2 separate regions of the Homo sapiens genome follow, and region 1 is linked to region 2. The links are contacts of gene promoters, found by promoter capture Hi-C in human tissues and cell types (Jung and others, 2019). All regions are on one chromosome and are shown on one strand. Each heading gives the region's core, a stretch centred on a gene start or on the middle of the fragment in contact. The rest is flanking DNA. Distances are from core to core; before and after follow the strand shown. Region 1 has its middle 100 kb from the start of COX10-DT. Region 2 holds the start of HS3ST3A1 (heparan sulfate-glucosamine 3-sulfotransferase 3A1).

Region 1 (4,916 bases), core at 450-2,949, 360 kb before region 2:
AACATACATACATAACATGTTTGTGTTTCTTTTATAAAATTGAATAATAACTCACAGAAAATAAAGCCAAGATGAACAGTTTCTACAGCAATAAAGAAAAATAAGACCTGGCTCATGTGACAAAAGACCCATCTCAGTTCATGTCCTTCTTATCTCTAGCTTTTTCAGGTCAAGGATAGTTTTATCAGAGGCTGCCTATCCCAGTGTTGCCACTCCAAAGTAGTGATACAGAATGGCTGGGCTCCTGGCTAAACCCCACCCTTAAACCTGGAACCACGGCCCTAAGTGAAAACACCTGACCCTGTTTTTCCACCCAAATGTTGCATTTTGGCCTGCCACGCCCCTATCCTGTGCCCATAAAAAGACTTCAACTGGCAGAGCAACACAAATGGATGATGCTAGTGGTTAGGGATGCGAGCAGCTGAGCTTTAGGGATACAAGCTTCTGAACATTGGGGATACAAGTGGCTGAGTGGTGGAGACTAAGGATAGAAGCGGCTAACTTCAGATGGTGTGGCCCCAGGGAAAGATCTTCTTTCCACACCATACCCTTTCCCACTCCCATCCCACTGAGAACCATTACCCAATAAAATCTTCCACATACGCTACACTACCCTTCAATACGTTCATGTGACCTAATTTTTCCTGGATGCTGGACAAGAACCCAGGTGCCAAGAGGGCAGAGGCTTGGACGCTGCTGCGGGCCACACACACACAGAGCCTGCTCCCACCAGAGAGGAGTGACTGGACAGATCCAGCGTTTGTTACCTCTGGTTCCCACAATCACTTGCTCTCAATGTTCCCTCTCGTTGGGAGTGGCCAGAGGCGGACTGACTGAAAAGAGCCACTCCAGTTTCTGCCCACAAAGGAGGCCAAGGGAACAATCCCATCTCATCTAGGGGCCCATCTGGGATACAACAGATGGTTAGTTAACATGCGGGCCTGTCGGATCTGCCTTTTTTTCAAGACCCTGCCACCTCTCTCTTTCCACCTGGTAAAAGGAATATTGGCTCTTTTTCCCTTTATGGAGGTCTAGCTGGTCTGAAGTGGGGAAGGGATACAGTGATTAAAGGAACCCATTTCCACAGAGCAGAGGCTCTTCCTTCAACCCCACCCACTGCCCTTATGCCCTTTAAGTTGTTTTTCTGTTTTTCTAAGGGAGAGGGTTCTCTTCCTACCTCAGCACTCTGCTTATGATAGGAAAATGACAGAGGAGGAAACCTTCGTGGCTGGTAGCTGTAAATTTGCCAAAGCCTGTGGGACTTAATCTAAGTGAATCTCTGCAGCCCTTCAAATACCCTTTTTTAATCTCAAACTTGATTCCAAGCTTCAGGTTGAGGCCCTGGAAAGGAAAACGAGATCTGAGGGATCCAAAGCCAGGCAACATGCGCAATGTAAATGGGCAGGATCAATTCCTGCCAACAAAAACCCTGCTTCATGGAAGAAGGCCATGCTCCATGGCATAGGTGAGAACCAGGGAACTTAAAGCTGTTGACAGCAGGGGAGATAGGGTGTATGTGGATAAGAGCGGGTACTCCCACCCGCTAGGCCCCCCTGCTTCATCGGTGCAAGCCGCTTTGGCACCCATGGGTGGCACCTGCCAAGGTCACTGGGACTCGGGGATGGAGATAGAAAAGAAAAGGGGGGAACACCCTCTTTCTTTCTCCCTCACACCCCAAGTTTTTGCTAAAAGAAGGAAGGGAATGAGGGATGCCCCAAATTGCCTGTCTTTCAGAATGGACAACCAACAAACTTTATCATCTCCAGTTTCTACTCAGAAACAGACCCTGGGTCTAGATAGTACTTTAGAGGATCTCCTGAAAGTGGCCACCTTGGTCTTTTAGATATAAGAAAGAGGCAGAAGCTTTAATGACCACCGTGCAAGCCCATGAACCCCAGAATTCCTAACGTTCACCTGTTAACCACTACAGATGTGGCAAGAACAGTTCTCTCTCTCAAAGTGTAACCACTCCCATACAAGATTTAATTTTTTTCACCGGGGTGAGACAGCTTGGGGTACAATCTTGTTAGTATATTTCACTTCTTATTTCTGTAATCTTTGGCAATAAATTCTTTCCTTGCATAATGCACGTTTGATCCATGCATATTTAACCTTGTAAAGCTTGTTTTTTTCTCTCTCCTGGAGGCCATCAGGGCTCCAAATAGGCAGGCAGCCAGAGCCTCGGACGATGGCTCCCTTTTGCCGGGGATCCTTAGGTAAATCTCTGGGAGGAATCTGATTGCCATTTTCTGCAAACAGTGTCCCCTTTCAGCAGGAAGTAGCTAAGACCGGTCGTTGTCCATATTCTAAAGGCACTTAGATGTGCCTCTTCAGAGCGGGGAGATGATATAGAATGACTGGGCTCCAGGCTCCCCACTAGACCCCACCCCTAAGCCTAGAACCACCACCCTAAGTGCAAAAAAGCTGACCCCATTTGTCTGCCCAAATGTTGCTTTTCTGGCCTGCCGTGCCCCTATCCTGTGCCCATGAAAAGACTTCAGCTGGCAGAGCAACACAGTGGCTGATGCAAATAGTCAATGCAAGCGGTTGGGGATGCAAGCAGCTGGGCATTGGGGATCCAAGCTGCTGAACGTCGGGGATATGAGTGGCTGAGTGTTGCAGACTATGGATAGACGTGGATAACTTCAGAGGTGTGGCTTAGGGAAAGATCGTCTTCTTTCTGCACCATCGCCTTTCCAACTCCCATCCTGATGACAGCCATCACCCAATAAAATCCTCCACATACACTACCCTTCAATCCATTTGCACAACCTGATTTTTTCTGGACACCGGACAAGAACCTAGGTGTTGGGAGAGCAGGGACTTGGACGCTGCTGCAGGGCGGCACAGAGCCTGCTCCCACCAGAGAGGAGCGACTGGCTGGTTTCAGCCTTCATTCCCTCTAGTTCCTGGACTTGCTTGCTTGCCTGCTCCCTCTTGCCTGGAGTGGCCAGAGGCCGGCTGAGTGAAAGGAGCCACTCCAATTTCTACCCATGAAGGGGGTCAAGGGAACAATCCCATCTCAGTACGAGGAAGGAAACCTTAGGATTCTTCACTCCCCAAGCCCACGATTTAAAAGTTGGCACTGAGAAGCAGAAAGGGAATTTATTCCAATAAGTGCAGTAGAGGCTTATTTCTTTCCCTTCTGTAGAAAAAGTAGAAGAGAAAGCTTTTGCGTTGTGGCTGCTTTGGTGCAGAGTGGGCAGAGCCAGAGGAGCTGTGAGAATCTCCCAAGTATCACTGGTTATCACCTGGGACTGTCACGCCAACAGGCAAGCCTGGATCCATCCTCTGTTTACCCTCACCCCTAGGCTTTGTGTTTTCATAACTGTGAGGTCTCCAAGCTTAACAAGGCTCTCAGTGCTGACAGGTCATTCTTCTCCATTCCTAAGTTATCTTTTTCCTCCAAAACTTACTGTAGCGATTTCAAATCCTTTAGTTTTTTGATACTTCCAACTATGTCTATAAAAACATGCTCACCCACGCTGGTCCACAGATATATTATCCTCCTGCCTTGTTGTCATAAGGGAACGGGCATCTTTCTCAGATGTGGGTCTAATATCTGCATCTGTGCTCTGCCTGACATTTCTTCCTCTGGATCTTCCACCCAACCCTTGACTGGCTTCTTTCTGTCCATATTTAAATATGCTTGAGATTTTCAAATCTTTATAAAAGTTTCTCTCTATTGCATGTCTTATGGTCCCCAAAGATCTGTTTTGAGAGTTATCTGTAATCTTTACTTGTTATCTTTACTTTCTCACTTTTTTCTTGTACTTCTACTCGTTGAAATCTGACTTTTACTCCTGCCCTTGCAAGGGTCATCCTACTTGTAGCTCATGTTAAGGAACACTTCTAAGTCCTTAGGCAAGAAATCCCCTCTGGGCAGCATTTGGCACTGTTGACAAGGTTCTCCTTATTAAAACACTTTTATCTCGGTGTCTGTGACACTGTGCTTTTCTGGTTTTTCTCCAATTTAATCAGATCAGATTGTTTCTTCTCAATCTCCTTTTTTTTCTGTTATTGTTTTCTTTCTGCCCAACCCTTAGATACTGGTGTTCTTAAGAGGGCTCCTTCTTTCTCACTCAACACATTTTCTCTCAGATGATCTGTAACAACAAACTATTTGCTGATGACTGCCATTTATTTGTTTAACAAGTATTTATTGAAATGGAAACAAATCATAAGAAGAATAAACAAATTCAAATGCTGGTTCATTGAAAAGACCAACAATATAAATCAACTTCTTGTGAGTTTGACTACTTAAAAAGAAAGAATGAGAGTAAAAATATACAATATTGAAAATAAGAAAGGAGATATTTTCACAGATATAGAAAAAATTAAAATGTTCATAAAAACCCCACATCCAACTCCTATGGCAATACTTTTTCTAGGATTTTCTAAAATCCTAGAAAAAGGGATTATTTCTTAACAAAACATAATTCACCAAACTGTACTCAAGAAGTAGGAAGTTCGAATAGGTCAATTTTCAGTAAGAGTTTGGAAAAATTAGAGGCACCATTGGAAAAGGGACTGAGAGAATAATATTCCTCTTTACTAGTTTACTTTTTTGGCAAGGGAAAGGGGAGGATGAAGGCTAGTAGAAAGTGGGGTGTGGTCAATAAATCTAACAGAGGAAGAGGTCAGAGAAAGATGACTGAGAGTTTCCCTGTTCAGCATGTAGACTTTTTCTTAAAACTCCTGGTACCTCCCTAGAGCAGGTGTCTATAAACTATGGGCAAGTGACCAAATCCAGCCCACCATCTTTTTTGTAAAGGTTTTGTGATACACAGCAACACCCATTTGTTTAAGTGTTGTCTATGGCTGCTTTGGCGATACAATTTCAGAACTGAATAGTTACAGCAGAGACCAGATCGCTCATAAGACCTAAAATATTTGCTATCTGGATCTTCACAGAA
Region 2 (5,041 bases), core at 605-3,104:
GAGCTAGAAGGGAACTTCGAGTCCATCATTTTCCAGTCCAGGAAACTGGGGCATGTTTATAAGCATTCACGGGACTGCATGCCTTCAAAACAACTTAAAAATGGTCTTTGTTTTGTTGTCTTCCTTCTGCAAATCTGACTGAAGTACTTAGGGAAAAAATGTGAAAACACAGGAAAGTTTAAGTTAGCATTAGATCTCAACTGGTTTGTCAATATCCAATTTTAGAACACAAAAGGACATTACAGCTTGGCAGGGCTTGTCCATCCTCGTAAACGCCCAGCGCTTTACGGCATCAGAATCTAAAAAGCTCTTCACTGGTTGTCGAATCAGTTGGGATTGGTAGTTCATAAACATAAAACCATAAACCATATCCAGCAGTGAGTATTTATCTAGCAGGGCACAAATTCATGGATCCATGCAAGCCCAGAGTTAGAACCACTAGGTGCCCCTTGGAAGCTGAAAAAGTGGAAGCTGACTTCCACTTCCGTGGTCAAATAGAGCACAGAAAGGCTGCGAAGTTCCTGCATGGGGACGCAGAAATGCCTGGTAAGTTTCCTGCACCGTGGACCTTGAGCCTGCGGTGGGCCCTTGTTAGCACCCGCAGAGGTCCCAGAAAGCTGCCTCCACAGCTTGCAGGGGCTGGTAAGAAGCTCCCAAGCTACCGCCCACATGGTGAGGCAACCTGTGGAGGCAAGGAAGCCAAAAAATAAGGAACAAATAGGATTAGAACAAAAAACCACCTCATGCAGCTTCCACGGGCCACCTCCCTCCATTAGACAGCAAGGCGGTTTGTATCCCTTCCTGACCTGCTCTCCGGGGAGCGCACGAAGAGGATATAGGGTCAGGGGAGGCAAGGGAAAGAGGAAACCGCAGTTTATGAAAGGACATTTAACCTCTTTGCGAGCGTGCATGCGCGCGCGCGCACACACACACACACACACACACACACACAAAAGTACAAACAACATTAAGGAAATACACACTACATTAAAAATTGGGCATAGGGACTTGGAATCGGAGTTGAATTTTTTTTAAATTTTAATTTTGCCTTTGATTTATGCATTGGTTTTTTTTTTTTTCGTAAGAGGTTGTTCCTTTCTAGGCCCTGGAGGACTGTATCATCTTATACAAATCCAAGGGAAAACAATCAAAATAAGAAAAGAAAAGAAAACAAACAAACAAAAAACAGACTGATACGAGAAAGAGCTTTGCTCCAAGACCCGCAGCAGACAGTTGAGTAGGTAGAAGTCCAAGCTGCTGCAGAGGAATTCGGTTTGCTCCAGACAAACGGGGGCGTGGCGTGCAGCGCAGTACTGGGAACTGCTGCAAACAAAACTTCCAAGGGGACGAGGAGTAGGTTCCAGGCGATGGAAAGCAGTGGGATGGGGAAGGATAGGGCAACAGTGCCAAGAGGGGAGCAGAGCGCGGGGAACCTGGAGAGGGAGGGTCAGGGCTGCGGAGGGCTGAGCTGCGGTGGAGAGCTCTGGGGCCCCTCACCAAGCTAGTGGCGTCTTGGGTGGAAGTCAGGCCCCCAGAGATCCGGCCGGCCTTAGCTGTCACTCAGGCAACCCCGGAGCCGCCGCAGACACCGGATCCACTGGAAGGGGGCGAAGCCGCGGGGAGGAATGGGGGACACTGGGGAAGGGGCGTCGCCCCTGCCGCCCCCGCCCTCTCCAGTGCCATTGGGCGGCTGCTGCGGAGCCCGCGCCACCTTTTCTCCATCCCACCCCGCCCGTCTGGCCCCGCCTGGCCGCTGGTCCGCGCCCCGCTGCGCTCGTCCGGGGGCTGGTCCGGCCCGGGCCTTTGACGTCACCAGCAAGTTTGCTGCCCTCGGCGTCCCACGTGTGGCGGCGGCCAGCGGCGGCCCAGGAGGCAGCCGGTGAGCGCCTGCGAGCAGAGTGGCGGGGGCCGCTGACAGGTCCCGCGCAGCCCAGCCCAGCCCAGCCACGCGGCTCACAGGTGGGGTCCAAGAGCAGTTTGGAGCAACCCGGCGCTACGGAGAGGGGTGGACGGCTCTGCACGGGCCTCCTGTCTCCCGCTCGGGCAGAGGGACTCGGGGGGACCTCGCTCCTTGGCTGAGAGAACCTGAACTCGGGCGGAGAGAACGCGCCCAGGCGGGCAAGGGGACCAGAGAAAGCCGGGGCTGGAAGTCACTGTCGCTCGCCACTGTCTGGAGCGCACGGAGCGCAGAGGCCCGGCAGCCGCGCGTGCCCTCACGGGGACCGAGCCAGTGATGCAGGATCGCTGAGCGGAGATCCGCGCCGAGAAGTCTCTCGGGGCCGGGGCTGAGACGCACGCCTTCGACACCGCTGCCAAGACCCCGATTCCGGCGACTCTTGCGGGGAACCGAGGGGCCAAGGCTGCCCCAAGCTCAGGACTTGGGCGAGTCTAAGACGATGGTTTCTTAAGCACGGACCCGCGTTCCCCTTCCCGCTCCCTCGACTGGAGGCAGGGATCCTGCGCGGGGCCCCCGGGATTCCGTTTCCCCGCGGAGCCCCGGCCGCTGCCTCCCGGGACAGTTCGCACGGCCACAGGGGCGCACGGCGATGTGGCCTCCGTCCAGCGCGCTGGCCCGCCGGGGGGATGCTCTGGCACCTGTCGGGGTCCAGGCCTAGCATGGCCGGCGCGTTGCCCGACGTCGCCTCCGGCTAGGATGGCCCCTCCGGGCCCGGCCAGTGCCCTCTCCACCTCGGCCGAGCCGCTGTCCCGCAGCATCTTCCGGAAGTTCTTGCTGATGCTCTGCTCCCTGCTCACGTCCCTTTACGTCTTCTACTGCCTGGCCGAGCGCTGCCAGACCCTGTCCGGCCCCGTCGTGGGGCTGTCCGGCGGCGGCGAGGAGGCGGGGGCCCCTGGTGGCGGCGTCCTGGCCGGAGGCCCGAGGGAGCTGGCGGTGTGGCCGGCGGCGGCACAGAGAAAGCGCCTCCTGCAACTGCCGCAGTGGCGGAGGCGCCGGCCGCCCGCGCCCCGCGACGACGGCGAGGAGGCGGCCTGGGAAGAAGAGTCCCCTGGCCTGTCAGGGGGTCCGGGCGGCTCCGGGGCCGGAAGCACCGTGGCCGAGGCCCCGCCGGGGACCCTGGCGCTGCTCCTGGACGAAGGCAGCAAGCAGCTGCCGCAGGCCATCATCATCGGAGTGAAGAAGGGCGGCACGCGGGCGCTGCTGGAGTTCCTGCGCGTGCACCCCGACGTGCGCGCCGTGGGCGCCGAGCCCCACTTCTTCGACCGCAGCTACGACAAGGGCCTCGCCTGGTACCGGTGAGCGGGGCGGGCCCGGGCTGGGGCTGAAGGATCCGGGGGTCCTGGGCTGGGAAAGACGTGGAGGAGCCCTCGGTGACCCCCAGTTCGCCCTCCTCCCCACTTCATGCAGAAGGCGAAGGGTCGTCAAGGGTCTTTCTTCCCTCTCCGCCTTCTCCTTCCTGGGAAGTGGATGTTGAAGGAGAGAGTGGGAGGGAAATTCTGGCCTTCATAATTTTCATCCTTGGGAATCCCTTGCCAGCAAATAGCCAGTCTGGTCTCTTTCTCCTGCTCTGCGAAAGTATTCATGTATTTAACTAAAGGAAAAAAAAAAAGTCTCTTCTAAATTAGAAACCTGTTCAACAATTAATAGATTGCCTTCTCCTTCCCAAGGAAGCCCGTTTTCATTCTTTATCTTTTGGAAAGTTCTTTGTGGTTAACACAGTCTTTACCATCAGGTATTTATTTACCTTGACCTTTTGCCAGATAGTTGTCCTAGGTGGGAAGTAATATAGAGACTTAGTAAAAGTGTCAAGAACCAGAGAATCTGGGTAGTTTGGAAAATATATGTCTGTCTGAGCAAGGGAAAGCAACCAGGCACTGTATTTTAAAGGACGCTTGGCAATAACTTTTGTTTGAGGGCAAGGAATGAGTTTTGTAAAGTGCTTTTGATATTTGCAGGGAAAAGTAACTTTTGTCTTTTGACTGACAGAAACTTTTCTAAAGATCTTCAATCCTCTTTACAAATAAGGTAGCCAATTAAAAGAAGAAGACAACAGAGAGAAAAATACATTGGCACAACTTTGCCAATACAGTTTAGGAAATAAGTCTGGCTTAGATCTTAATCTTAAATTTGCCAGTCTCTTCAAATTCAGACCACCTTTAATAATAAAATCAGCCAGATTCTAATAAAGCTAGTGTCGCCTGGATTTTGTTTGCCATAATATATTGGCTTTTTTTTTCTTTCTTCAAAGTACCAGTAAAAATTATGTTGCTAGAATTTTCCATTTTATAAAGTTTATCTTGTTCATAAAAGATGCATTCTCTTTGTTATTTTAACTGAAACAGTTACAAAAATTACAACATAATTTAGGTATTTTCAAAAAGCCCATTAAATTAATCATTCATCCCCAACACAGAAATGGATATGATTTGACAAGTTTATTTACTTGAGGGGCCAATTGCAGTCTCAGATTGATTTCAGGAGCCGAATTTACAGTCAATCCACTCAGAGAGAAAAGATTTGGCCCTAAAAATAGAATTTGAACATTAAACACTTTTAAAACAGTAACTTTCCATTTGTTGGAAAGAAAAAACAAACAACCTTCCCTTAATATAGATGATATATCATTTAAAATCATCAGCCACTTAAAATATCCCCTTGTGTTTCTGTCATTTATGTTGTATCCTCTGGGAAGTTCTTATAAAAATGACCTGTTGAATCTGGAAACAACAGGTCCTTCTTTTTAGCACAAAGGCAGCTCTGTTTTTTCCATCAAGGACACGAGAAAGAAGTGATTAAAGACCCCTAAAACTCTTATCTATAGCAGTTTGCATTGAATTCGGCCTCGTACTGTGCTGTAAGCGAACACATTTCAAGCTGACTGTCTGAAACATCTAACACTATGTTGGGCTCTGAGGTGCTATTAAATATGGTGAAATATTTAGTACTAAAACCCTTTATTTTCCTTTTGCCATATAAACTTTATTTCCACAAAGTAGGATTGTTTCTTCTTATTCCAGAAATGAGTATTTGAGGGCACGGTGTATCTGCAGACCTGGATCTTATTTTCCATGGACCTTTCTGAGC

The links. Contacts are between HindIII fragments. The study calls those that stand out against the background at their distance.
Region 1: a contact is called between a fragment that was not itself captured here and the fragment with the promoter of HS3ST3A1 in region 2, in 1 of the 25 tissues and cell types used here (mesenchymal stem cells).

Annotation. Positions count from the first base shown.
Region 1 is chr17:13,963,428-13,968,343 of GRCh38, reverse strand. No RefSeq gene overlaps it. Among named protein-coding and RNA genes, the nearest start is that of COX10-DT, 100 kb to the left of the region's middle. The HindIII fragment of the contact is 3,117 bases long and covers 141-3,257 here.
Region 2 is chr17:13,598,742-13,603,782 of GRCh38, reverse strand. It overlaps HS3ST3A1 (heparan sulfate-glucosamine 3-sulfotransferase 3A1), which reads left to right and starts at 1,854. Exons shown (of 2, transcript NM_006042.3): 1 at 1,854-3,252. The coding sequence starts at 2,654. RefSeq lists a silencer at 1,137-1,431 and an enhancer at 2,280-2,900. The HindIII fragment of the contact is 10,594 bases long and covers 1-5,041 here.